4 separate regions of the Homo sapiens genome follow, and all the other regions are linked to region 2. The links are contacts of gene promoters, found by promoter capture Hi-C in blood cells and fetal thymus (Javierre and others, 2016). All regions are on one chromosome and are shown on one strand. Each heading gives the region's core, a stretch centred on a gene start or on the middle of the fragment in contact. The rest is flanking DNA. Distances are from core to core; before and after follow the strand shown. Region 1 overlaps PEX2 (peroxisomal biogenesis factor 2). Region 2 holds the start of ZC2HC1A (zinc finger C2HC-type containing 1A). Region 3 holds the start of LINC01607 (long intergenic non-protein coding RNA 1607). Region 4 overlaps TPD52-MRPS28 (TPD52-MRPS28 readthrough).

What was found. The method cuts DNA at HindIII sites, captures the fragments that hold promoters and counts their contacts. A CHiCAGO score of 5 or more calls a contact.
Region 1: a fragment that was not itself captured here is called in contact with the fragment with the promoter of ZC2HC1A in region 2 in 1 of 17 cell types (non-activated CD4 T cells); the score reaches 5.6 in non-activated CD4 T cells.
Region 3: a contact is called between a fragment that was not itself captured here and the fragment with the promoter of ZC2HC1A in region 2, in 1 of 17 cell types (monocytes). The highest score is 5.8, in monocytes.
Region 4: a fragment that was not itself captured here is called in contact with the fragment with the promoter of ZC2HC1A in region 2 in 1 of 17 cell types (total B cells); the score reaches 9.8 in total B cells.

Annotation. Positions count from the first base shown.
Region 1 is chr8:76,976,866-76,983,184 of GRCh38, forward strand. PEX2 (peroxisomal biogenesis factor 2) reads right to left here. Exons shown (of 4, transcript NM_000318.3): 4 at 3,393-6,319. Among named protein-coding and RNA genes, the nearest start is that of MIR3149, 13 kb to the left of the region's middle. The HindIII fragment of the contact is 1,591 bases long and covers 745-2,335 here.
Region 2 is chr8:78,663,443-78,670,158 of GRCh38, forward strand. ZC2HC1A (zinc finger C2HC-type containing 1A) reads left to right here and starts at 2,647. Exons shown (of 9, transcript NM_016010.3): 1 at 2,647-2,722. The coding sequence starts at 2,707. LOC105375911 (a long non-coding RNA gene) reads right to left here and starts at 2,537. Exons shown (of 4, transcript XR_007060972.1): 1 at 1,563-2,537. RefSeq lists enhancers at 1,770-2,278, 2,279-2,786, 2,751-2,800 and a silencer at 2,461-2,680. The HindIII fragment of the contact is 1,596 bases long and covers 2,062-3,657 here.
Region 3 is chr8:79,764,821-79,771,663 of GRCh38, forward strand. LINC01607 (long intergenic non-protein coding RNA 1607) reads left to right here and starts at 3,322. Exons shown (of 4, transcript NR_125410.1): 1 at 3,322-3,398. LOC101927040 (a long non-coding RNA gene) reads right to left here. Exons shown (of 6, transcript NR_110954.1): 5 at 6,747-6,802; 6 at 4,552-6,185. It overlaps HEY1 (hes related family bHLH transcription factor with YRPW motif 1), which reads right to left and starts at 2,947. Exons shown (of 5, transcript NM_012258.4): 1 at 2,755-2,947; 2 at 2,399-2,474; 3 at 2,189-2,272; 4 at 1,831-1,912; 5 at 1-951. The coding sequence starts at 2,843. The coding sequence ends at 368. RefSeq lists enhancers at 644-883, 2,470-2,519 and silencers at 2,970-3,449, 3,490-3,849, 3,950-4,119. The HindIII fragment of the contact is 475 bases long and covers 4,511-4,985 here.
Region 4 is chr8:80,013,775-80,020,226 of GRCh38, forward strand. All of the region lies in intron 5 of TPD52-MRPS28 (TPD52-MRPS28 readthrough), which reads right to left. All of the region lies in intron 1 of MRPS28 (mitochondrial ribosomal protein S28), which reads right to left. Among named protein-coding and RNA genes, the nearest start is that of MRPS28, 13 kb to the right of the region's middle. RefSeq lists a silencer at 2,980-3,274. The HindIII fragment of the contact is 1,067 bases long and covers 2,517-3,583 here.

The sequences.
Region 1 (6,319 bases), core at 290-2,789, 1.7 Mb before region 2:
TAAGTGAGTTAGTGCAGGAACAAAAAACCAAATACCACATGTTCTCACTTATAAGTGGGAGCTAAACAACCAGTATTCATAAAGATGGCAATAATAGACACTGGGGACTACTAGGTAGGGAGAGACAAAGAGGGTATGAGTTGGAAAAAAAACTATTGGGTACTATACTCAATACCCTGTCACCTGTTACCTGGGTGACAGGATCCACTATGCTCAACCTCAGCATCATGTAATATATGCAGGTAACAAATCTGCACACGGTACCCCCTAAACATAAAAGTTGAATTTTTTTTTTTTTTTTTAAGACAGAGTCTCGCTCTGTTGCCCAGGCTGGCAACAGAGTGTAGTGGCTTGATCTCAGCTCACTGCAGCTTCTGCCTCCTGTGTTTACGTGATTCTCCTGCCTCAGCCTCCCAAGTAGCTGGGAGTACAGGCATGCATCACCAAACCTGGCTTTTTTTTTTTTTTTTTTTTTTTTTTGTAGAGATGGGGTTTTGCTATGTTGGCCACGTTGGTCTTCAACTCCTGGCCTGAAGTGATCCACCTGCCTTGGCCTCCCAAAGTGCTGGGATTACAGGTGTGAGCCACCGTGCCCAGACAGAAATTTTTTTTTTTACCAAAGAAAAATGTTTGCTAACTTATTTGTGGTGATGAGTATAAATGTAGACTACATAGTAGTTCTAGCTGCAGAGGACCATGGATCATCAGTTGTATATACAATATGGCCAATTGGTTTGGCTAAAAAGCTTGTTTAGAACTGTTTTCTTGCTGAAAAAGATCTTGTCTTAAACAGTAACAACGCTTACTGAATGTTTTTTGCTAAAACTGAATGTTTCAAATAAACCAAATTTTTGCCTCTAAGTGCCATCCCATTTTGAAGGCTTCTCGAACAGAGCAATACTAATTTCTGCCTTCTTAACCAAATCAAACAGAATATAGGGTAGATTTCATTGATGATACAAGGTCATTTTTTAAAACCACAATTACTATTCACAGTTAGTCCTCAGAGCCTGTGTGTCCCACTCTAAATGATACCAGATTAAACTCTGTTTTTAAGTTTTTCTTCTTTGATACCAAGTTGTTCATTATTGCTTGTTATGGTAAACCATGCTTGCTTTTACCAGTTTTCCTCTTCTCTTTCGTCTGTTATTTTTAATCTGTTGGTGAAAGTTGATTAGAATTCTATTCAAAATAAAGCAGCCTCTTACTGGAGACTTGAGAAACTGTCCCATGAGTATAGCTTTGGTGATAGAATCTATTAAAATCTATTTAGGTTTCTTCAGGCTTTATTTCAGATTGCAGACCATTTCAGTGATACTGTTAATGGAAATAACAATCATGGCTCATGTTGACTGTTAGCAATAGCCTTTGACCTGGTTTTCTTGCTTTGACTCATACCTCTGCACAAATTATCCAGAGTGATCCCTTAAAAATGTAAATCTGATCATGTCACATCTCTGCTTAAAATCCTCCTCTGGCCTCCTCAGAGCTGGAATAAATCCAGGTATTTTCCCCCTGGCTTGCATGACCTCACCTCGCCTACCTCATTTCCCACCTCTTTCTCTGGTTCACTGGGATTTCTTGCTGTTCCTCAAAAAGGTAAGACTCATCTCAGAGACTGGGCGCAGCCATTTCCTTACCCTAGCACCCCTTTTCTGCTTGGCTTTCTCCGTTTCCTTCATATCTCTTTTTAAGTATCACCTCAGAGAGGCCTTCCACAAGCACACAATTCAATACAGCAACCCCTATCACTCCCCATTTCAAAGCCTGTTTTATTTTCTTCAGAGTACTACTAACATTTGAAATTATCTTTATTATTTATCACCCCTCTAAGAATGTAAACTCCATGAGAGCAGGTGTTTTGTGGTATTCATGAATGCATTCCCTGAGTACGGAAAAGGAATGTCTGCAGGGGCTCAATAGATAATTTTTGAGAGAATGCTTTATTTAATTCCCATTAGAATTCTAACAGGTAGACATTATTGAATGTCCATTTCATAGGTGAACAAATTGAATCTTAAGTTAAATGAACTTGTCCCAAATCCAGTCACTAAATACTGAAAGCAGGGGAGCTGAGAGCAAAGTAGTAGGACATGCCTTGTGTGAGCTCTGATTGATATCTGAGTAATTTAGATATGATCACTGAAGTCACTTGGGTACTTTAAATACAAAAGTAGCAAACTTGATTTGAGAGCAAGTGCAAGGGAGAGAAAAGAAAAATGTTAAGTGTAAATGTTTTTATTTTCCTAAGGAAGAACACTTGTAACTGATGGTTACATACTTGAGGCTAACATGGAAACATATCATGTAGCTAAATCCCATCCAGTTTTCCTAAAGCTTGAGCCTGGAGCCTGCTGGGGAGTAGAAACAGTCGCACCAGAGGTATAGCAACTCTTCTGGCAGTGCCCAGAGAGGCAGAGACTGAATGGAGTTCCTGGGGGCTGTCATAGCAACTTGGCCAAGAAGTCTGGTATTTGTAGTGGGGCAGAGATACTCAAGAGACACTTGGGTGTGTCAGTCATAAATCTATTGTTTATAAACGAACACTACCTGGCATTAGTGTGTTGTTTGTCCAGTGTACTATATGCAAGAAAAACAAAAAAAAAGGAAACCAGAAAGGAAAAAATGGACAGTATTAGATGTGGTACACACCAAGATATGCCACCTGGCTCCTCCTGCAAGGATGTACATGGTGCCCAGCTGTGGAATGTGGTCAGTGGACTGCCTCCAGCTGTTGGCTCCCACAGGATCTGCTTCCGCTACAGAGCTGCCATGCTTGAGATCACAACCTTCCCAGAGCTGCCCACACCCAGTGACTGACAGAAGTGTAGGTAAAAAGGCCTATTTACTTTGGCCTAATTTAGGACATTCTGACAGATGACACTAGCTCAGAGCTCCCCTCTGGGCTGGCCAACTTTTTTCAGGCCTGCTTTAGAGTACTCTCATTTCTTCTGCCTATTCCTGCTTTGCTCTTTCCCTTCACAGGCATGGATCCCTGAGAGTTATACATAAAAATCTCTTGTACTTCAAACCCCTTTCAACGCCAGCTTCTGCAGAACCCTATCTGCGACCTTAGGTTTATTCAGCTAATAAAATGTTTCTATTGCTACACTAGAACTAAAAGGCTCTGGCTATCTAGTGATGAACAAAATAGTCATGGTCTCTGAACTCATGGGGGTTATCACCTAGTAGGGGTGGCAGATGTTAAATAAAAATGAAAAATAATAAAAACCTATTTTTACTAAGTGCCATTAGGGTCTGTGGAAAAAAACCACCCCCTACCCCAATACTGACAAGTCTATCAGCTGGCATATATGTAAAGTACTGTTTTCTTAAGATTTTGAGAATATGGATAACTACTTAGAAGTTACTCTATCAAAATAATACAATTGTTGATATAACAATTTTGTTGACTTTATTTAATCCTTTCAAATCTGCAATGTTAAAGAATCATCCAGTTACTTATGAATGTCCTTATCAAGCTAGATCACTGGTAAAATGAGACTGCAATGTGGACTTTTGAAATGAGTAAGGCAAATGTAGACTCTAACTAGTAGAGATCTGCCAGCATCCACCCTTCTAAGAACACCTCAGTTTCCTGTGGTGAACGGCCTCCTCCAGGACTCCTTTAGGTTCATGTGGTATATGGGAGGAGCATCACCTACATTTAAGTAACCAGGAACAGTATTTTCCATCCCCTAGCTATAGTGGCTGGTTCAGGAATGTGCACATAATCCAAGGCAGACCAGTAACAGTGAGCTCCTGGACTTTAGCTGTAACTATTAGGCAAGAGTATCTCATGCCAGTGGGATCAGAAAGCTAGCAGATTATAAGCCTTGAGCTTCTAGCGGCCATCATTCTGTGTGAGAATGAAACCGACTCAGAGTAATACTGACAACAGCAAAGGAAAGCACTACTATTATATTCTATTTACTATGTGTCAGGCATTGTTTTAAGAGCTTTATATACACTAAACATGTAATCCTTACAATGAACAGATGTGCAGAGATGTGGCACATTGCCCTAGGTTATACACAAGTGGGATTTGAATTCTAGCGGAATCTGTGTCCCTCATGCCATGTACACTCATCAAAAAAATGAGAGCCAAAGGATAAAGCCTGTCTCAAAGAGAACCATCTGAGCACCTACATCCAGACTGGGCCTGCAGTGTGCAGCTGGACTCTTCACTTAATGAACTCAGATTCAACATTGCATTATTCACAACAGAAAGTGAAAAGAACCTAAATGCTCTATGATGGTGGTTAAATAATAATAGGAATAGGAATATGATGGCATATACATAGCATTTTAAAAATATATTATGGCTGGGTGCAGTGGCTCATGCCTGTAATCCCACAACTTTGGGAGGCCAGGGTAGGAGGACTGCTTGAGCCCAGAAGTTCAAGACCAGCCTGGGCAACAAAGTGAGACCTCATCTCTACAAAAATTAGCCAGGCATGGTGGTATGGGCCTGTGGTCCCAGCAACTTGGGAGGCTCAGATGGGAGGATCGCTTGAGCCCTGGGAGGGAAAGGCTGCGGTTAGCCATGATCACACCACTGCACTCCAACCTGGGTGACTGGGTGAGGCCCTTTCTCACCAAAAACAAACAAACAAACAAAAAACAAAGACGTTTGTATATATTTTTATTTTTTTAGAAACGAACTCAAACTCCTGGGCTCAGCCTCCCTAAGTAGGGAGCCTGGGATTACAGGCATGAGCCATTGTGCTCAGCCCTAAAATAGTTTTGAAGAATATTTATACATAGGAAAAAATGCTATTTTTTATGCATTATAATAATTTTGTAAATAAGAAATGTACGTGCAACAAATCTACAAATATAGTAAAATATAGTGATGATCTCTCTCAAAAAATTGTGGGAAAGTTGATTTTATATTTTTTCCTGAATTGTTGGTGTTTTCTACAATAATGTTTTAAAATTACAGAAGGCAAAAGAAGGCAAATTCTTAAGATGTAAAATACTCTTAACTCAAACTACAAAACTTCTTCAGTATCTTACACTAAATTGAACCTAAATTAAACTTACAGTTCATTCAATCACAGAATGTAAACTCCATGAAGGTAACTTGATTTTTCCTGCTTAATATACTGTTGTGCCTCTAATGGCTACATCAGTACCTGGCACCTGAGTACTTGTTCAATGAAAGGTGAAGAGAAAAATGAACTGGCAGTGTATTTCCATCATACTAGCAAGATGTTTATTTAAAAACATTTAAAAACTGTTTTTTAAAAAACATTCTAGTTAAGACGAGATAATTCAATGTTCAAGCTAATAATTCTATACCATTTTAAGAGTCTGAATTTACTTTTAAGTAAAAAAAGGCAGAGAAAAAGAGTGAAGGATACAGAATTATCTTGATTATGCACTGCTGTTACTATTCCCATGCTAAAGACCCCTTTTGTTTCAATAAAACTATCAATATTTACTGAGAATGACAGCTCTGAATCAAAGGCAAGAGAAAGAGACCTGTAAATAGTGCTGTTCATACTAGTTGCCCCCAGTAGTTCCCAGGCCTCACTTCCAAGCTGCCTTAAGTAATTTTTACTTTCTGAATATAAAGCCAACTGTGGAGGGGTCAGACAGCTGAGGACTGAACTTCTTAAAAATTGGCTTCAGAGAAAAGCATAACATTACAACTGAGGCGGCCAAGCACAGTGGCTCACGTCTGTAATCTCAGCACTTTGGGAGGCTGACGCAGGTGGATCACCAGATCAGGAGATAGAGACCATCCTGGCTAACACAGTGAACCCCATCTCTACTAAAAATACAAAAATTACCCGGGCATGGTGGCATGCACCTGCAGTGCCAGCTACTCGGGAGGCTGAGGCAGGAGAATTGCTTGAACCCGGGAGGCGGACGTTGCAGTGAGCAGAGATCGCGCCACTGCACTCCAGCCTGGGTGACAGAGCAGGACACCGTCTCAGAAAAAAAAAAAAAAGTTACAACTGAGGCATCAGGTCTTAAGGTTTAAAACAGTCTCATAATTGTCACATTATCATATTATGTCAACTCTGAAAATAAATGCACACTCATCCCAGAGTCTCCAAAATCTTTATCTTTAGAATCCAACCTTGTTTTAAGAAGTAGTAAAATGAAGGAGCATTGTTAGTAGTCACCTGACAAAAGCTGTCCATTATTCTTGACATTAAAAATTGAATGCAATGATTTAAAAAACATAATACATTAACATTTACATAATATATTTAGAATCACATGGTTTCCAGTGATTAGATTTCAGTCATGCCTGGAAAGGAGAAGACAGTGGCTAGGAGCACATTCCTTATAAAGGATACATAAA
Region 2 (6,716 bases), core at 1,397-3,896:
TGAACTTCGTGTGGGATTTAAGAGACTGGAGCTTTGAAACAAGAAGCTATATGCAGCTTGCTCAGCTTTTTGGGATGTGCAGAATAGATGTGGATCTGCTTAAGGGAATGGTGGTTGAAAGCAATATAATGCAAAGTGGAAAGAATCAAGGTATGATGTAATAAAACACAGATACAATATCTATTTCAGTTAAGTACTAGTTTTGTGATCTTGACCAAGTCAGAAACATCTCTGAAAGTTTGTTTTCCTTTTTGTATGATAAGGAGGTCAGAAGATCTCGAATTCTTATTGATCTATAAATGTTATTTTCAGTTAACAAGATCACATGGCAGGTAGAAAAATTATGTACAGGTAAGTGCTTAAAAACATGAGAAGAAGCTGAGTTTCATTCATTTGAGTAACTGGCTAGTGATAAAATGGACTTGAAGCATAGAAGGTACTCAACAAACATTTGTTGAATGAATGCATGCCGAAAAATGGATTAGACTGGAGAGGAAGTAATGTCATGATACAGTGCCAAGACAAGACTCTCAGGCTAGGTATGTAGGCGGCAGAGGAAAGAACTTATTGAAGGCAGATAGGAAGAAGTCCTCTTTACTCAGGGGTCAGAATCAGGGAAAAGCTGCAGGAGCCAGGGTAGCTGTAGCGTAAAAGTTATGAAGAGACCAAAAGCATAAAAGTTATGAAGATACCTGTAGGGAAGACTAGCAATCATGTTTTAGAGAATTAAGATTCACAATAGAAATGCCTACTCAAATATATGTTAAACAACATGTCTGAACGCTTGGGTTTACACTTGAGGCAGCTATAATAAAAGGCAAGGCAAGGAAAGGGAGTGAGGAGCCCAATCAAATCACCATAGGCTTTAGAATTTAACAGACAAGAGTGTAGCCAAGCTCTACCATCCACTAATAATACAAATATTGACAAAATATTAATTGCTCTGAGACATCTAGAAAATGAACATTTTAATTCTGATAAATGAAGATTGTAGTATCTACTTTGTAGATTTCTTTTGAAGATTTGTGAATATATGAAAATGGCCTAAAACATGCCTCACATGATTTATTCTTTAATGCTATTTTTATTATTTTTAATGTTACTGTAGATTTTATGTCGAATAAGGTATCAGCCAACTCAATATTCGTCTTGCCTTCAGTGAAAGAACTTGTAATTTGTAAAATAATGGCTTCCTTATTTTTGTATTTTCTTCTGTGTGCTTTTTTTTCTCCTTAATGCTCTTTTAAAAGGCCTTCCCTCCCAACCAAAAATTCTACCTTTGCCTTAGTAGCACTAAGGAAGAAAAAGGACCTTTCCGCAGCACCCAGTCTAGAGTAGCTTATTGCCTGCAAGGCTATGGGTTGGCCAAGGAGGCCCAGGATCTCAGAGAAGCAGAAGAGCCAGGGGAACCAGGGAAGGGCGGAGGGAGTCATTGAGGCATGGTTGAAGTGGTCTTTACATGGCTCCACACAACAGATGGACTCTACCACATTCAAATGCACTTGGAGCACCTTCTCAGTAAGAGATGATGCCCCCTCAAGTGTTTGCTTGTTTAAACATACCTTCATGTGAGTGGAGAGTAGGAGGAATCCTGCTTCCTGAAGGTAACTGATTTCATAGTAGATGAAGTTAGATATGAAGTTAAACTCTTCAATTAAACAGATTAACAATAACATTAATCCGAGGTTTGTTATGGACAACACATTAATACTGGTAACTTGCCAGTAGATACGCTATAGTCAGCAAACAGTACAGCTTGTTTACGATTGCTAAATCAAATTTTCAAAGAAATGTAGTTCTGGTAATTGTAAGCAAAACCGTTAAAATGGTCTGAGTTAGTTTTGAAGTTACTTTCATCTTCAGGAGGTTTTGAACTCTGTTAGAGACGGGCGGGCCTCATTCTGTCAGGTTGTAGGTTAATTCCCCAACTCAAACTTCCCCGATCAAACATTGTCAGGCCAGGCGACTGTTTTGGTTTATGGATGATAAAGTATAGGGCCAAGGTAGGCCAAGAGTAGAAGACAGAGGGAGGGCTGGGTTTCACTTCTAATTTTTGGCCCAAGCTTTCATGGTGAGGAAACTGTTTTCAAGGGCTTAGAGCAATCGCAGTTCCACAATCGCAGATAGAAAGTATGATTTCTCTGGAAAAAAAGTGTCTTAACCTATGAAGCTGTGTGTGAAGATCAAGTGTAGGGGATACGCTGAGGTCAAGTCATGCGACCAAAGACCGGAAAACGGAGATTGCTGCATGCAAGCGTGCTGGGCGTTTGTTTGGTTTGCTTGCCTGCTTAAAGTATCCACTGGGAGGGATGGCGGCTAGAAGTCAGAGGCATTGACTGATTGAGGAACTGGTGAAGCGGAGCCCATGAGGTGCTGAGGTACTCTAAATAGGAGGATAAGGTATGAGGCAAAACAAGGCTGGAGTCAAACAAAGGCGCCGTTGCATCGCAGATTGCAACCTGAAGCGGCTCCCGGCTCCCTGGAGAGTAACCCGGAGAGACGGACAGGGGTGGCAGCCAGGAGGAGACCGCAGGAACCTCGCCTCCGCCGCGGCCCCGCCCCCACGGATCCCCGCCCCCGCAGTTGCGGAACCAATGGGAGCTCGGAATGTTAGCGGGTGGGAGGTGCGGCTGGGTTGCTACAGCCAGAGCTGGGCGGTGGCGGGCGCTGCTGAAGGAGTCTCGCTGAGCTCGAGGAGGTGGCGCGATGGAGGGACTGGAAGGTGAGGCGATGAAGGGATGAGGGCAGGACGGCTAGAGCGGGCCCGAAACAGCTGGGGACCCTGGACACCAGTAGCAGGAAGGCGAGGGCTGGTTCGGTGCGGCGGACCTCGCCGCGTCCCGCCGCGCCTCCGGAGGCTGGGGCCGAAGGGAACCGGACAGTCCCCGATGCGGTGGAGCTAACGCTACCAGGCTGCCCCGCCTCAGACGGTCTTCAACTGGGCTTTCCCGCCCGGAGCCAGATCCTGCCCCTGGCAAGACGCCTGCACGTCTCTTCCTACCATTTTCTGATCTTGCTTGACTCCTGAGTGCCCTTTTAGTGATCCCAGTCTCTGGCCAGATTTTGTTTTCCTTGTACTGGACTCTCTCCATTATTGTCCACGGCCTTAACACCAACAGGCCACTTTGTGCTGCAGCCCCGGGGTGTGTCTCCAGCCTCGAGCTCCTGACATTCCTTGGCCGATTTCCCTAGGTAACCGGCTTTTTACATTTCGACAGCATCTTCTGTCGGAGGGATGTCAGAGCATCTCCTAAGGAAGTGTCACTGGCCAGCTTTAGAGCCGGTACAATAGATTACCCGGAGGATTTGATGACTTATTCACGGCCGCTGTGTGAGGAAGAGCCTGTATTGGTTCCTTATCTTTGGGTTTATCTTTGTACTGTAACCATGACTCCAGATTTTGCTTTGTTCCCAGTTCTTTCACTTTTTCTCTATTCTGTTTACCCATTTTATCCTGTGTAATGAAAGCATTCACCTAAAAACAAAGGAAGGACAAAAACCACAATAACTAGCATTGGCAACAACAGTTTCAAGATTTTTTAATTTGTTATGATGAAGAACAAACCTTCAGAATTGAAAGATCCTATTGTCTTGATTTAGCTCCTTTCCCCCGTCTCCTAGTTTACACGGATTCAGTTGGAATTAAGAATGAGCAGAAGCTTTTGAGTCTTGTGTATTGTTGCATGCCAGGGAGTAAAATATTCTACATTGTGTGATGAAGTGCAAAGTGGTAGCCGGTAACTTTTTCAGTCACCTATTCACCAAAAAGCAGATGTAATAACATGAGTAGAAGTTTATTTCGTGCTTTTGCTCTGATAAATGATTCTGATAATTTTCCGTTTGTGGACAGCTGCAGTATGCTATGGCCTAATGAAGGTCTTGTTTTTTGCTTATGTGTTTTTGGAAGATAATTCAAGTTTCCATGAAATAAGGAATTGTAATGATAGTACAGTATATTTTACTTTCAAGATACTTTTGTATCTTGGTGGGATTAAAGCATGGGTTATGGAATTCTCATGAGATTATCATATATAATATGATAAGGTTTTATTACATATTATCTATAAAGTGTTTTGAACAGTTTGCAGATTTTTATTATTTTATTCAACATTTGTTATTAAGACAAAGATCATCATCTGATTTTTCACTTATGTATCCTAGGCACCTAAAACAATGTCTGACACAAAGTAGGTACTCAATAAATATTTGTTGTTAAATAAATGTCTATTATGGGCATCTTTTTAGGTTCTAGGTTGCAGCAAAGAATAAAAATGATAAAGCTTTACTCTCATCGAACCTACATTTTAGTGGACCTTACATTTTAACAGTGCTAAGATATTACTATTGAAACCTTACTACGAATGTTTTTAAAATATAATGGAAACCTATTATGACACTCAGTTGCATAGGTGGACAAAGGTAGGATTCTGTATTTATAGGCATATTTTATGGGTCCAGCTTATGATGTTATAGGGCCCAGCTTATGATGTTAATAGTGCTTGCCCTTTACTTTTAGATTTTTTTTTTTTACAAAATAAGATGCTATCATTAACTATAATGTGTTTAATTGTGATAAACTGAGTTGAAATATGTGAAGTTGCCCTAAATTATGTAGGGCAAAACAGTTGAATTCTGGTAATTTCAAGCAGTTCAATCTAATAAAAGCTCTTGAGAATTTTCTGTTGAAGTTAGGATGGTGCCTTTCTCTCCTTCCTCCTTCTCCCCTCTCCCTCCCCTAAGAGATCACACCTTGCAAATATCAAACTCTGAGTCTTAAGGTTACCGTTCATTAATTCATCCATTCTTTCATTCTAGAAACATTGATACAGTGATAGATTAGGTAGTTTCTTACCTCTATTGGAAGTTAAAGTCTAGTACTTTGAAGGTGTTTAATAAATATTATATTGCAGTATCCAGTAAGAAATATTCAAAAGTTTGCTTAATGTGTCAGAGTAATTGCGTAAATATTGTACTCTGGCATTAGACATATGTTTCTAGTTGAAACCAGTTACCAGACATTAATCTTGGCTATAAAACAAGAAAATATATGGACTCTTGAAAATTTCTATTAAAGATAATCTTACTCTTTCTTATAACTTACGTTATTTGCATGTAATCATATACCATTTGTTTTACTTTTGGTCTTCAGGGTCTTTATGCTTCTTGAATAGTCAATAGATGAGGTATTAGGCTCAAACACTATACTTTGAAATGAAATATAAGTTATCTGTTTTTGTAGAATCAATATCTGAGCACTTCTACATTCTGTAGATAGTTATAGCAAAACCTTTTAATTCCTTTTCATCTAATAAAATTTGTGCCCCACAAAATCTATCTAAGGATAATAGAAGTAGTTCTAGACTTGAGAGAGTTCCAATCTCTTATAAGCTTTTTTTATTTGTAAAATGGAGAGATGGTAAAATCTAAGCAGATTTTATCCTTATATACAGTATTGTCATTCCCTTCATATCCCTGATAAATGGTTATAAAAATTGTGGCAGAGATCAGACTGTCCGTTCCTCTTGTGGATTGTTGAAATTATTAGATCTTAGTACTGCCCTCTAAAACTTGATTAGAAGACTGATTGCTCTTCAGTGTAGCCCTTGGTTTAAAGATAGTCGTGTCTCATCAAAATTTCTGTTTTGTTTTATTTTTTCGTAGTATAAATGTATACTAGTTTACTGTATAATTCTTTATCTTTATTAATTTATCTAGCATTTACTGCTTTTTGGTAGTGAGTTGGATGCCAGATATTTTAATAGACAGTATATTGGAGAGGACTGTGTTTGAATCCTTGCTTTGTTTCTTTTTAGCTCTATGATTTGGGCAGTTTACTTAATCTGAACCCTTATTTTCCCTGCTATGAAAAAAATGGAGCTATTAAATATGTAACTACCTAAATTATATTAAGTATTAAATAATGTAATATATGTAAAACATTTAGCTAAGTACCTAGTGCATAGGAGGCCCTCTCAGTGTGTGTTTGTTAGATGGCGAAAATCACAAAAAGCATGTTAGCAGGTCCAGTATAGGTAAAACATAGCATGCTTGGGAGGAGCGAAGGAAACATTGAAGCCAAGAGAGAAAGGACTTTAAAGGTGAAAGAGATTTGTCAGCAGTGGCTCAGACTGTAGAAAGGCCCAGTAGGATGGGGATTCAAAAGAGAGCTTCAGATTTGACAATTAGTAAATAGTAATCCGTTACCTTCCTTTTTAATGTCATTATTGTGTCCTTATTAAACAAACTTTCCCTGATTATCCATACTTCTCCAAGACAGCATTATGACCATCTCTTCTCCCCTTACTTTGTTCTACCTTCATTGTGGTTATCACCATGTAACATTTTATATATTAGTTTTTATTCATTTTTTCCCTGTTAGATCAGTGAAAGCTCTATAAGATCAGAGTATTTGTTTTTTATCATCCTTATACTCCTACCTCCTAGAACAGTTTCTGCCTCATGCTAGGTGCTCAACAAATACTTATTGAATCAAGGAATGAATGTATTTCTTTCTTTCTTTCTTTCTTTCTTTTTTTTTTTTTGATACGGAGTTTCGCTTTTGTTGCCCAGGCTGGAGTGCAGTGGCATGATCTGGGCTCACCACAACCTCCGCCTTCTGGGTTCAAGCGATTCTCCTCCCTCAGCCTCCGGAGTAGCTGGGATTACAGGCATGTGCCACCAAGCCTAGTTAATTTTGTATTTTTAGTAGAGATGGG
Region 3 (6,843 bases), core at 3,498-5,997, 1.1 Mb after region 2:
GACCAAAAATACTAAATGTTAAGATTCCCCAAATTTTGAGGCAAAAACGGAATCATTCTGGTTTACAAAGTAAATTAGGCACAGTACAAACCTATCACAAAGTGTTGGCTTATACTCACTATTTCAATTTAATGTCTTGAACAAAATTTAACAACTAGTTTTTAAAAACTGCTAATACATGACATGATGAAAAAAACATTAAAAAAGATAAAAGTAAACCAACAAACCTTTAGTCTTTAAAAAAAAAATTATCTGAAAGTGTACCTTTTTCCTTTTTACTTTTACTGACGACTTTAAGGTGATGTTGGCAACAGTCCAGCCCAGCTGGGATTTTAAACTTTCCCCTCCCTCATTCTACATCAGTTCTTTAAAAAGCTCCGATCTCCGTCCCCCAAGGTCTATAGGGCTTGCCAAGGTTTGCAGCCTGCGTGGGTGCTGAAGGGCTCAGTGCATTGGGAGACAGTAAGTGGAAGGAGCCGAAAGAGAAGGGGAAGGCCGACAGGGAGGCCACTGAGGAGAGCAGAGGCGGCGACAGTTTGGAGGCGGAGGTGACCACAGGGAGCACCGGTCCGAGGCTGCCGCTAGGGGGCGCTCGCAAAGCAGGCGCCTCCGGATGTGCCGAGCCCAGCCTGCCCTGGTGGTGCGGTTCCGTGGGTGAGGCCGTGGTGCCCGCGTTCCCGTGGCCGTTCTGGGGCAGCAACAGCGGGTGCGCGATGTGCGGGTGATGTCCGAAGACGGTCCCCCAGGGAATGTGTCCGAGGCCCGCGTGGGCGCCGCTCGCGGCTTCCCGCTGGGAAGCGTAGTTGTTGAGATGCGAAACCAGTCGAACTCGAAGCGGGTCAGAGGCATCTAGTCCTTCAATGATGCTCAGATAACGCGCAACTTCTGCCAGGCATTCCCGAAATCCCAAACTCCGATAGTCCATAGCAAGGGCGTGCGCGTCAAAGTAACCTAAGCAAAAGAACAAAAGAAAAATCTCAGGGCTTTGCCCGTTTCCCTCATTTCTTAAGTCCCAGAGACAGCCCTTCCTGGCAGATACCTGCATCCCTTAAAACACAACAGTCAGGGGTTCTTCCGAAAGTCTTTGGAATCAACAAAAATCTTTGCATTAATCAACATAAGCAGAATGTGTTTGCTAATGCAAGTTCAAAGCCCAATTAGAAGCTGCAGAGCAGAAATTGGAATTATACCCTACCAGCAGATGAAACTATGTTCATTCCTTTAATGTTTTCCCTCAACAACAACAAAAAATACATCAAGGGCAGAGAAACCACAGAGCAGTGAAATTCATTAGACACACAGATGTAAGTTATCATCGCGGAGCTTTTAGGCACTTGGACCTCAGTAAAGCATTTTCCTGCTGGAGAGACATACACACAGACCTTGGTCTCCCGTTAGGTTTCCTTTACTTAACCAGAATACATTTCTTTCCTCAAGAGGCATGTGGCAGCACCTTTTTTTTAAAATCCCGTATACCAAAAATAAGACCACATATTGTTTTTAAATGCTTTTTCTCAAAATAGCAATGGACAAATGTGAAAGCTACCTGATCTGAATCAGGGCTGTCACAACTTTTGAAGACCTCACAAATAATAGGTATTTTTCCAAAAGATGCACTAGCTCAATCCGCAGAGAGCTGGGGTGGTGAATTCACTGGAGAAGATTCTATGTGCATTCGAAAATGTACTGACAGGGAACTGCACACACCACACACCGTTCTCTCCCCACCCCCAAAGAAAAATCAGGCAGCTACTGCACCAATCCTGGCCTTCAGCCGCTGCTCACTCTTTGCCAACCATTCAGAGCCCCCACTAGGTCTAGGAGATGTACCTTTCCCTCCTGCCGTATGCAGCATTTTCAGGTGATCCACGGTCATCTGCAGGATCTCGGCTTTTTCTAGCTTAGCAGATCCCTAAAGATGAGAATGGCAAAAGATTGATTTGGCACAAGTTCCTTTGGGGAACAATTTAAAATATGCAAACATATATACAAAGATACATGCTTTGTAAATCGTAAAGCATGGACTAAAGCAAAATCAGTTGTCTTCACAAAATACGCTGGTATCTGTGTACGAATTCATCTAGGCACAAGCAACACAGCTATTTTCCAAGGCGGATGAGATTAATGAGGGGAAGATTCAGAAGGTGCAGATAGCTATGCTGAGAGCTTTACCTACTTGCTCCATTACCTGCTTCTCAAAAGCACTGGGTACCAGCCTTCTCAGCTCAGACAAACTGTTATTGATCCGGTCTCGTCGGCGCTTCTCAATTATCTGCAGAAGGCAAGCAAAACAAAGGAAGGCATTACCATTACGACTGTAAATTTCAAAGACAAAAAAAAAGGTGGTTATTTCCGTTAATCAATAACAAAAATAAAAGGAGAGTGTAAAGAGACTCACTCCTCTCCGTCTTTTTCTGGCCAAAATCTGGGAAGATGTAGTTGGGGACATGGAACCTAGAGCCGAACTCAAGTTTCTGAAAAGAGAAAAAGAACAAACAAAAACTGAAATCGCCGTTAAACGAGGAGAGGTGATCTGAGAGGTCGCCCCCACACCCTCCCCGCACTCAGACTTTTTTTGCCACTTGGGCTGGAAGGCACCTAGGGGTTCCCTGGCCGCAGGCTGCCGCCAGCCTGCGACGCGCGGAGGTCAGCGCAGGGCACCGGCGCGCCAAGGGTCCTAGCCCGCTGTCACCGCGGCAGGCCTGCGCTCGCCTCCCGCTCTGGCTCGGCTCCGCTCCGCCGCCGCCAGCTCACCCATTCTCGTCCGCACTCTCCTTCTCCACCTCGATGGTCTCGTCCAGCTCGCTGTCCGAGGAGCTGTACTCGGGGTGAGCTCGCTTCATGCTGGCTCCCTGGGGGTTCCTGGGGAGGGTCGGCGCGGCGGGCAGGGAGGAGTTAACTACAGCGGCGCCTCTCCGCTCTCGGCTGCTTGCGTTCCGCACACACTGATCCCGCTCACGCTTTGCCTCTGGTTAAAACTCAACCATCCTTTCCCACGCTGAGCCCCTTCCCAGGGCCCTGGGGAGGGCGGGGGAGTGGGGAAGGCGGGCGAGGGGGCGGAGAGGCGGGGCGGCAACTCCAGGGCAACAGCCGCCCCCCGGCCAATCCGGTTTCTCGCGCCGCTGATTGGCAGCCGCTCCGGGGAGGGGCGGGAGCGAGGCCGAGGGCTCTAGCGGACCGCGCCCCCGCCCTCCGCGCCCGCCCCTGCCCGGCGGCGGTGCGTCGGCTCCGCGGGGGCTCTGTCCAGCCTGCACTCAGGGGAAGGAGGAGGCGCGGGCGGCGGGGAGGCGCGGGAGGCCGGGCCGGGACACAAGCCCGCCGGCGGCCGCGGCTCCTCCCCGCCCCGCGCGCCCCGATTGGCCTGGCCGCGCGCCAGGGCCGAGCCTGCAGCGCCTCCGGTGAGCCGCACGCGCCGCGGGCCGTGGGAAAGTGCCGGCGCCGCGGCCGCCAGCCAATCCGGGCGGCCGGCGACGGCGACGGCGGCGGCCGCGCTGGCGGCGGCGGCGGCGGCGCTGGGCGTCCGCATGAATGGAGAAGAATGGGCAGGCGGGGAGCCGGGCCGCGCGAGGGCGCGCCGGCGGGGGCTGGGCGGCCGCCGGCCGGGCCCCCAGTGTGAACCTGTAATCGGAGCCTGGGCGCCGGCCGGCCTCGGAAGCCGCCGCCTAGCGCCACCGTAAATCTCGCCCGCGTGGCCGCCAGTGCCCGGCGGCTGGAGGCGCGCGCTGTTAGTGGGGCCGTGCCGGGTGCACCTGGCCGGGCTGCGCGCCGGCGGCTCCGCGGAACCCGCAGGGAGCCGGGAGAGGGGGCGCCGGGCGCGTCCACAGTGGCCACCAGCCCAGGGGCCGGTCACATGGAGGAGCAAGCTGTGGGCTCAGGGGACGCTCTTTTTGATTTCTGGGACCGAGGCCGCACATGCAGCCAGACTCGTTTCCGCAGGGGCTTCCCAGCCGCGGAATGGAATGAATACCCCTGTGCATCTCATTTCCGGGGAAGGGGAGCACTTGTTTTTTCGGCCGCCTTGGGGAAAAAAAAACCCAACGGTCCCTGGGAATAATCATTATGCTGGGATTTTTTTGTTGTTCCCCCGCTGCCCCCCCCCCCGCCCCCTCCCCCCGGCGGCCAGATCCTCTCAGCGGGCGACAGGGTGGCGGTGCTGGCGTTTGCGTCTGAGGCCGGCCTTGCTGAGGGAATGCACGTCTCTGGCCCCAGACACACACCTCTGGCTTCGGTGGCTTGGCGTGGCGTGTACTGGGTGCCACGTGAAGTCCCCCCCGAGTCCACTAAGAAGACAGATTTTTTAAAAAATACAGTTGTAAATCTCGAAACTGATTTCTGATTCCAGAAACAGAATGGTTGTTTTAAATTTGAAAATCCGGTCTTCTGTCCCTTACAAAGGTACACAGCAATTCGCATTCATCTCAGATCCACTCTGAAGCTTGTAGTCCTGTCTGTGAGGGAAAGCTTAATATCCATCGGTGAGAATAACAAAAGGCGTTTTCTCTTTGCAAAAAGCTTCCTGGTTTCTAGACTTCCTTATTGATCTCAATGCTATTTTTTTTTTGAGATGGTGTCTCACTCTGTCGCCCAGGCTGGAGTGCAGTGGCGCGATCTCGGCTCACTGCAACCTCCGCCTCCCGGGTTGAAGCAATTCTCCTGCCTCGGCCTCCCCAGAAGCTGGGATTACAGACGCGCGCCACCATGCTCAGCTAATTGTTTTTGGTATTTTTAGTAGAAACGAGGTTTCACCATGTTGGCCAGGCTTGTCTCAAACTCCTGACCAAAGGTGATCCGCCTGCCTTGGCCTCCCAAAGTACTGGGATTACAGGCCTAAGCCACCGCGCTCGGCCTCAATGCCATCTTAACACATCCTGGATGCCAAGCACTCTGAGTGGCCGGCCTGGGCCTAATCCATAGTTCCTCTCTGGGCACCCCCATCCCTCCACCACCGCCCCCAACGGGAAATACAACCTCCTGGCTCCCACTGAAGCTTATTCCACTTCACATCACCTCCAGCCCTGAGCCTTTCCATGCAGCCCCTCTGCTTCCCTGTCTAGGCTGGGCCCTTCCATCAGCCAGCCTGGGTTTGTTGCTGCTGGCACCCCAGACCTCTGGCTTCCTGAAACTCCACCGCATGCTGCCTGTTAGTTGTCAGTCCGAGGTCAATCCCACCAGCCGACTTTCTCTCTGGAAGTGCAAATTTTAAGGCTCCTTCCTGGCCCTCCCAGTCTTCAGTCCAGGGCATCCATCACTACTTCCTGCCTCTTCCCTCCCAGAAACTGATGGTCCAGGCATAGGAAACCATCCCACCTGCTCCCCTCTGCCTTCCAGAAGTCCCTCTGACCTTCCATTTCTTTCCCCAAAGTGACAGGCCACCCTTCCCCAGAACCAACGTGTCTACTTCCCCTCTGGCTCTATAGATTTTCCCAGCCTCTGGCACCTACAATGAGTCAGCCTTTCCTGCTTTGGCTCATTTCTGCTGCTGTGGAGAGGCGTGGACAAGCTGCAGATGTTGAGTGAGACGAGACCGGGTGGGGTTAGGGATGCTTAACTCTACATTGGCATCCAAATGAAATATTGCTCACATGTTCATGATTACTTTTATGTCAAAAAGGAGGTTCTCTACGGCCAGGCGCAGTGGCTCACACCTGTAATCCTAACACTTTGAGAGGCTGAGGCAGGAGGATTGCTTGAGTCCAGGAGCTCCAGATCAGCCTGGGCAACATAGCAAGATCCCCATTTCTTAAAAAAGAAAATTAAAAATTAGCCAGGCATGGCATGCACCTGTAGTCCTAGCTTCGTAGAAAGCTGAGGTGGGAGGTTTGCGTGAGGCCAGGAGTGCCAGACCAGACTGGGCAACACGGCAAGATCCCCATCTCTAGAAAAAATTTAAAAATGAACCGGGCATGGTGGCCTGTGTCCTAGCTACTCTGGGGGCCGAGGCTTGAGCCCAGGAGGTCAACGCTACAATGAGCTATGATCATTGCACAGCACTCCAGCCTGGGTAACAGAATGAGACTCTGTCTCTAAAAAAATTACAAATGAGGTTGTCTTGCTTCTTAAGTTTGACTGATTTTTCAATGCTTCCAATAAATACGTATTCTTCTATGTGCCATGTGCTGTGCTAGGGCCTGAAAACACAAAGGTGACCCAAAAGTCATCCATCTTGCACTCCTAGAACTCACATCCTAGGGAGAAGACAGAGAATACACAGTAAAGTAGTTATGGATGCTCCAGTGCTTGGAAGCACTTGTTGGTAAGGAAAAACGAGGGGGTGAGGATTCTTTATGAGGTCTGGGAAGGCCTGTTCTGAGTTTGGAAGGGACTTAAGATCAAGAAGAGGTGAACTAGGTGGTTCAGTAATAACCGGGAAGGAAGGGGCGGAGACCTCTTCCTTGAGTGGTGGGATCAGAGGAGAGAGTTACACTGAGGGCACCAGGCCCAATTTTCTCCCATCTGCTGTGTAGAAGGGATTTACCCCTGGAGGCTTTGAGTGAAGAACGACTTTAAACATCTTTGCTACCCTGAATGAAAGGTACGTCCTGCAAATTGACCCCTTCTGCAACTTAAATGGGACTGCCCAGGCCTGGCCCCTCAGGAAAAGGACCTTTTACCATTTGGGGGTGGGGAAGTGGGCAAGTGTTGCCTTTTATAATTCGTCTCTCCTGAAGAATCACCCTTTTTTATTTCGCTCAAAGGCCTATTTTCTTGCCTGGTTTGTAGAGTCTGGGTTCAGTTACTTAGCTTACCGTTCCGCAGGCTGCTTTTATCTGCGTTCCCTTGCAGAAGAGATACTCCAGATGTCCTGGAAGAGAGAGACACTCCAGATTTAGGAATTCACTCGAA
Region 4 (6,452 bases), core at 1,800-4,299, 1.4 Mb after region 2:
TCTATTAACCGTGCTATAATAACTTTTGTTTCTTTAACACTAACCAATAAATGTTACGCTCGCAACAGAGTTCTTTTATTGAAATAAACGTATTGGTGGCTCAAGGTGATAAGGTACTTACATTTATCTCTCTCCCTCCTGAAATCCCATTAAATGATGGTAAAATAATAAATTAAAAAATTGTAAAAATTATAAACTCTCAATATTGAAGAGAACAGATGGAGAACAAAAGTATACAAACATACTTTCTAGTGGACAGAAAGCATGTGGAAGAGTGATAATTAATGAAGCAGAGTGAAATTCAAGAAGAAGAAGCTGTGAAAAAAAGAAAGCTATTCTATCCTGAAGTATTCCATAAAGGTATGGAGCTCAGTCATGCCAGGCTGCAGTGAGAAGACAAGCTGAAAACAAGGAGAATAGCTAAAAACAACAGAGGCAGGGCAGTCAATATTCTGTCAAGCACAAAATTCCTCAAGTGCATAATATCTGGTAATAGGCATGTATTATCCTGTCAAAAATAAATATATTTTTTCTCTTCCCTTAAAAAAATCAAACAAATTGTACAGAGGAGAGCCAAGTTTGGGATGGTTTGTTATGCAGCAGTAACTTATACTGTTTCTATAACCTATAGAAGCAGCAAAGAAAAGACTCCAAATGACAGCTGTGCAGCAAGCATATGAACAATTTGTGATGATTCAAATACGAGGGCTCCCAAAGGAAGGCTGGGAAGTCTGGCCACATGGCTTGAACCTTGGCTCTACCGCTTACCAGCTCTGGGGACAGGTCTGTGCACTTAGAATCTCTGTGCTGCTGTTTACTCATCTTATAAAATGGTGTTTGTAATTATATCTATCTATTTTACAAGATTGTTGTAAGGAATAAATGTGTGGCCATATGTAAAGCACTCAAATAGTGTCTGAAGGTAAACAGACCCTGTCAAAAACTTTAGCTTCTTTAAAAATTAATTTCTTATAGACTCAGTCACCACCATCAAGTTTTATTGACTAATCTAGTATTTGTCAACCAAGATGATTTCCCCCCTGCCACCCCCACTCCAGGGGACATTTGGCAATGTCTGGAGATGTGTTTGATTGTCATGACTGAAAAATCAACAACTCTTCTTAGATGCATCTGAGAGGTGGGGGTCACAGGGAAAACTGCTGTTCTCAAATGTGGAGAGACAAGTGAATGCAGAGAACTACTGAAAAGAAGCCTCCAAGAAGAAACCTCTGTGGGAACCAGTGCCGAGGTAGGGAAACCCGAGCTGTAACTGGTGAATTGGTGGATGCTCAGTGGGACAAGTCTGAAAGTTAAAAACTCCAGAGAGACTCAGTTATTGGGGACTCTCACACTTTTGTGAGTTTTAACTCCAGGAGCTCAACCTGGTCCTTACAGTGAATATAGGAGAAAAATCCCCTTGTACTTCAGACGGCAAGTTCTGTGGGGAATAGAACTATTTTGAAATACATCAGAGCACTCTCTCTTATTCAACAATTCATTTATCAAACAGGTGTTGTCTTTTTAATATACATTAAGCACATATATAAAACTATCATGCATATGACATGTGTCCTCAAGGAAACTCTTCAACCAAAGCCTAAACACTTGTCAGAGCCTAAGTGTCCTGGAGGAAGGGAAATAACCAATTCTAGCTGGCACTAGTCATTCTGTCCTACCAAAAGAGAGGGAAACACTGAGAAGCAAATGTGCAGTTCATAGTCCAGAGGCACAGGCTCACTAGAAGACTGAGACCCACTCATAAGACTATAGAACACTTTCCCTCCCCACACACCCTATCACCACATTACTAAAGGCCGATTGACAGCCATTCCTTTTACCCAATACATCATGCCCAGCTATCAAAAAGAAATTACAAGATAGACAAAAAAGCAAAAAACACAGTTTGAAGAGACAGAGCAAGGATCAGAACCAGATTCAGACACAGCAAGGATACTGAAATTATCAGTCCAGGCATCTAATACAACTATGATTAAGACACTAAGGGCTCTAACGGAAGAAATAAGATGTAAGAACAGATAAGCAATGTACGCAGAAAGATGGAAATTTTAAATAAGAATCAAAAAGAAATGCTAGAGATCGAAAGCCCTGTAACAGAAATGAAGAATGCCTTTGATGGGCTTACAGGTAGATGACACAGCTGAGGAAAAAAAAAAACTGTGACTCTGAAGATACCTCAATAAAAACTGCCAAAACTGAAAAGCAAAGAGAAAAAAGATTGAGGGAAAAATTGAACAGAATATTCAAGAACTTTGGGACAACTACAAAAGGTGTAAACTAATGGGAATTCTAGAAGGAGAAGAAAGACAAATACAGCAGAAATATTTGAAACAATAATGACTAAGACTTTCCTTCAAATTAATATCAGACACCAAACCACAGATCCAGGAAGCTCAGAGGACATCAACCAGAATAAACACCAAAAACACTACATCTAGGCATATAGTATCATTTTCAAACTACAGAAAAATCAAAGATGAAGAAAAAATTCTAAAAGAAGCTTGGGGGGAAAACAGCTTTCCTACAGAGGAGAAAAGATAAAAATTATATCCAGCTTCTCCTCATAAATCATGCAATCAAGAAAACAGTGGAGTGAGATATCTAAAGTGTTAAGAGGAAACAAAAAAAAAAAATACTAACCTAGAATTCTGTACCCTGACAAGTTATCCTTCAAAAATGAAGGAGAATTAAAGACTTTCTCAGACAAATAAAAATTGAGGGAATTTGTTGCAAGTAGACCTGCCTTGCAAGAAATGTTTAAAGAAATTCTTTAGAAAGAAGAAAATTATAAAAGTCAAAAACTCAGATCTACATTACATAAAGAAAGGCAGAACACAGAGAAGGAATATGTGAAGGTAAAATTAAAACTTTTAAGTTTTTAATTAGTAATTGATCTAACAATTAACAGTTTGTTCATGTTAAACAATTTGCTAATAATAAAAGGGTTAATTATCTGAAGAAGTCGGAATAATCCTTAATGTGTACATGCCTAAAAATAGTCAAAAACCATGAGGCAAAAACTGACAAAACTGCAAGGAAAAATAGATGAATCATTACAGTTGGAGACTTTAATGTCCCTCTATCAGAAAAGGACAGATCCAGCAGGGAGAAAATCACTCAGGATATAGCTGAACTCAACAACATCATAAATCAACTGGATATGATGGACATCTGTAGACAATTTCATCCAGCAACAGCAGAATATATATTCTTCTCATGCCACATGAAACAGTCACCAAAACAGACCACATTCTGGACCATAAAACACACCTTAACAAATTTAAAGGAATAGAAATCATGCAATGTCTGCTTTCAGACCACACTAGAATTTAACTAGAAATCAGGAATAGAAAGATAGCTCAAAAATCCCAAAATTCTTAGAGTAAACAAATACACGTCTAAATAACATGAGTCAAACAAATCTCAAGAGAAATTTAAAAATACTTTGAACTAAATGAAAATGAAAACACAACTTATCTAAAATAAAAATTAGCACAGAAAGCAATGAAACTGAAAACAGGAAATCAATAGAATCAACGAAAGCAAAAGTTGGTTATTTGAGGTAAGCTTCTAGCCAGACTAAGAAAAACAAAAAGAGAGGACACAAATTACTAATAATAGAAATGAAAGAGAGGACATCACTACATATCCCATGAACATTAAAGAAATACTATAAACAACTCTATACCCACAGATTTGATAACCTAAATTAAATGGATTAATTCCTTGAAAGACAAAGTCTGCCAAAATTCAAGTAAGAAGAACAGATAATCTGAATAGGCCTATGTCTATTAAAGACATTAAATCAGTAATTAATATACTTCCAAAACAGAAAGCCCCAGGTCCATATGGGTTCACTGGTGAGTTCTACCAAACATTTAAAGAAGAAATCAAACCAATTCTCTACAATCTCTTTCAGAAGATAGGAGTGGAACTTATCCTATGAGGACAGTAATATCTTAATATCAAAACCACACAAAGACATTACAAGAAAAGAAAACTACAGACCAATATTTCTCATGCATGTAGATGCAAAAATCCTCAACAGAATATTAGCAAATCAAATCCAACAACATATAAAAATTATATACCACAACTGAGACTTACGACAGGTTTAACATTCAAAAATCAAAATGTAGACAAAGCATTAATAACCAGGATATATAAGGAGTTCAAACAACTCTATAGGAAAAAAATTCTAATAATCCAACTTTAAAATAGGCAAATAATCTCACGCCTATAATCCCTGCACTTTGGGAGGCCGAGGCGGGCGGATCACAAGGTCAGGATATCAAGACTATCCTGGTTAACATGGTGAAACCCCATCTCTACTAACAATACAAAAACAAAACTAGCAGGGCATGGTGGCAGGCGCCTGTAGTCCCAGCTACTGGGGAGGCTGAGGCGGGAGAATGGCATGAACCCGGAAGGAGGCAGAGCTCGCAGTGAGCCGAGATCGTGCCACTGCAATCCAGCCTGGGAGACAGAGCAATACTCTGTCTCAAAAAAAAAAAAAAAAAAAAAAGGCAAATAATCTGAATGGACCTTTCTCGAAAGAAGACATACAAATGGCAAACAGGCTTATGAAAAAGTGCTCAACATCATTATCATCAGAGAAATGCAAATCAAACCTACAATGAGATATCATCTCACCCCAGTTAAAATGGCTTTTATCCAAAAGACCAGCAGTAATACATGCTGATGAGGATGTGGAGAAAAGGGAACCATCATATACTGTTAGCGGGAACATAAATTAGTACAACCACTCTGAAAAACAGTTTGAAGTTCCACAAAAAACAAATAACCAAAACTAAAAATAGAGCCACCATATGATCCAGCAATCCCACTGCTGGTTTTATACCCCAAAGAAAGGAAATCAGTATACTGAAGAGACATTTCCCATGTTTGCTGTAGCTCTGTTCACAATAGCCAAAATTTGAAAGCAACCTAAGTGCCCATCAACAGATGAATGGATAAAGAAAATGTGGTACATATACACAATGCAGTACTACTATTCAGTCATAAAAAAGAATGAGATCCTGTCACTTGCAACAACATGGATAGAACCAGAGGTCATTACGTTACGTGAAATAAGCCAGGCACAGAAAGACAAACTTTACATGTTATTATCTGTGGGAGTTAAAAATTTAAACAATTGAACTCATGGAGACAGAGTAGAAGGATGGTTACCCAGACGCTGGGAAGGGTATTGGGGGTTTGTACCTATTAACCATCCCCACTCCCCTATATGTGATATAGTATACTTATAGTATATAAGGGGGTGGGGATGGTTAATGGGTACAAAGAGTAGTTAGAAAGAATGAGTAAGACCTAGTGTTTGAGAGCACAACAGGGTGATAAGCAATAATTATTTAACTGTATATTTAAAAATAACTAAAAGAGTTTAATTTGATTGTTAACACAAAGAGTAAATGCTTGAAGGAATGGATACTCTATTTACTATGATGTGATTATTACATGTTATATGCCTGTATCAAAGTATCTCGTGTGCCCCCTAAGCATATACACCTACTATGTACCCACAAAAATTAAAAATAGAAAAAAAATGTAATCCATCACATCAATTGGCTAAAGAAGAAAAATCACATGGTCGTATTTCATTTCGTCAAATGGAAAAGCATTTGACAAAACCCAATACCCATTCATAATAGTAACTCTCAGAAAACTAGAGAAAGCTTCAACTTCCTAAAGAATATCTACAAAAAACCTACATATGTAATGGTAAGTAACTTGAAACTTTTCCTACTAAGCACAGGAAGAAGGCAAGGATGTCCCCTCTCATCACTGCTTTTCAACATTGTACTAGAAGTCCTAGCTAATGCAATAAGACAAAAAGAAAAAATAAAAGTATACAGATTGGGAAGGAAGAAATAAAACTGTGTATGATCATGGATGGCATGATGACCTATGTAGAAAATCAAAAAGAATCAACAAGAAAAAAACCTCCTGGAATAAGTAATTACAGCAACATTACACAATATAAGGTTAATATACAAAAAACTATGTGGCCAAAGTATTGGTAGTCATTAATGTGTAAACCAAGAGTATGAGACAGGTCTAAATCAATTTGGAAAGTTTATTTTGCCAAGGTTAAGGACACGCCCATGACACAGCCTAAGGAGGTCCTGAGACACGTGCCCAAGGAAGTCAGGGTACAGCTTGGTTTTATACAATTTAGGGAGACATGAGACATCAATCAATACGTGTAAGATGTACATTGGTTACACTGGTTCAGTCCAGAAAGGCAGGAGAACTAGAAGCAGGTTGCGAGGGTGGCTTCCAGGTCATAGGTAGATTTAAAGATTTTCTGATTGGCAATTGGTTGAAAGGGTTATTATCAATAGAAAGGAATGTCTGCGTGACCATAAGGCATTGTGGAGAGTATGGTTTTATCATGCAGATGAAGCGTCCAG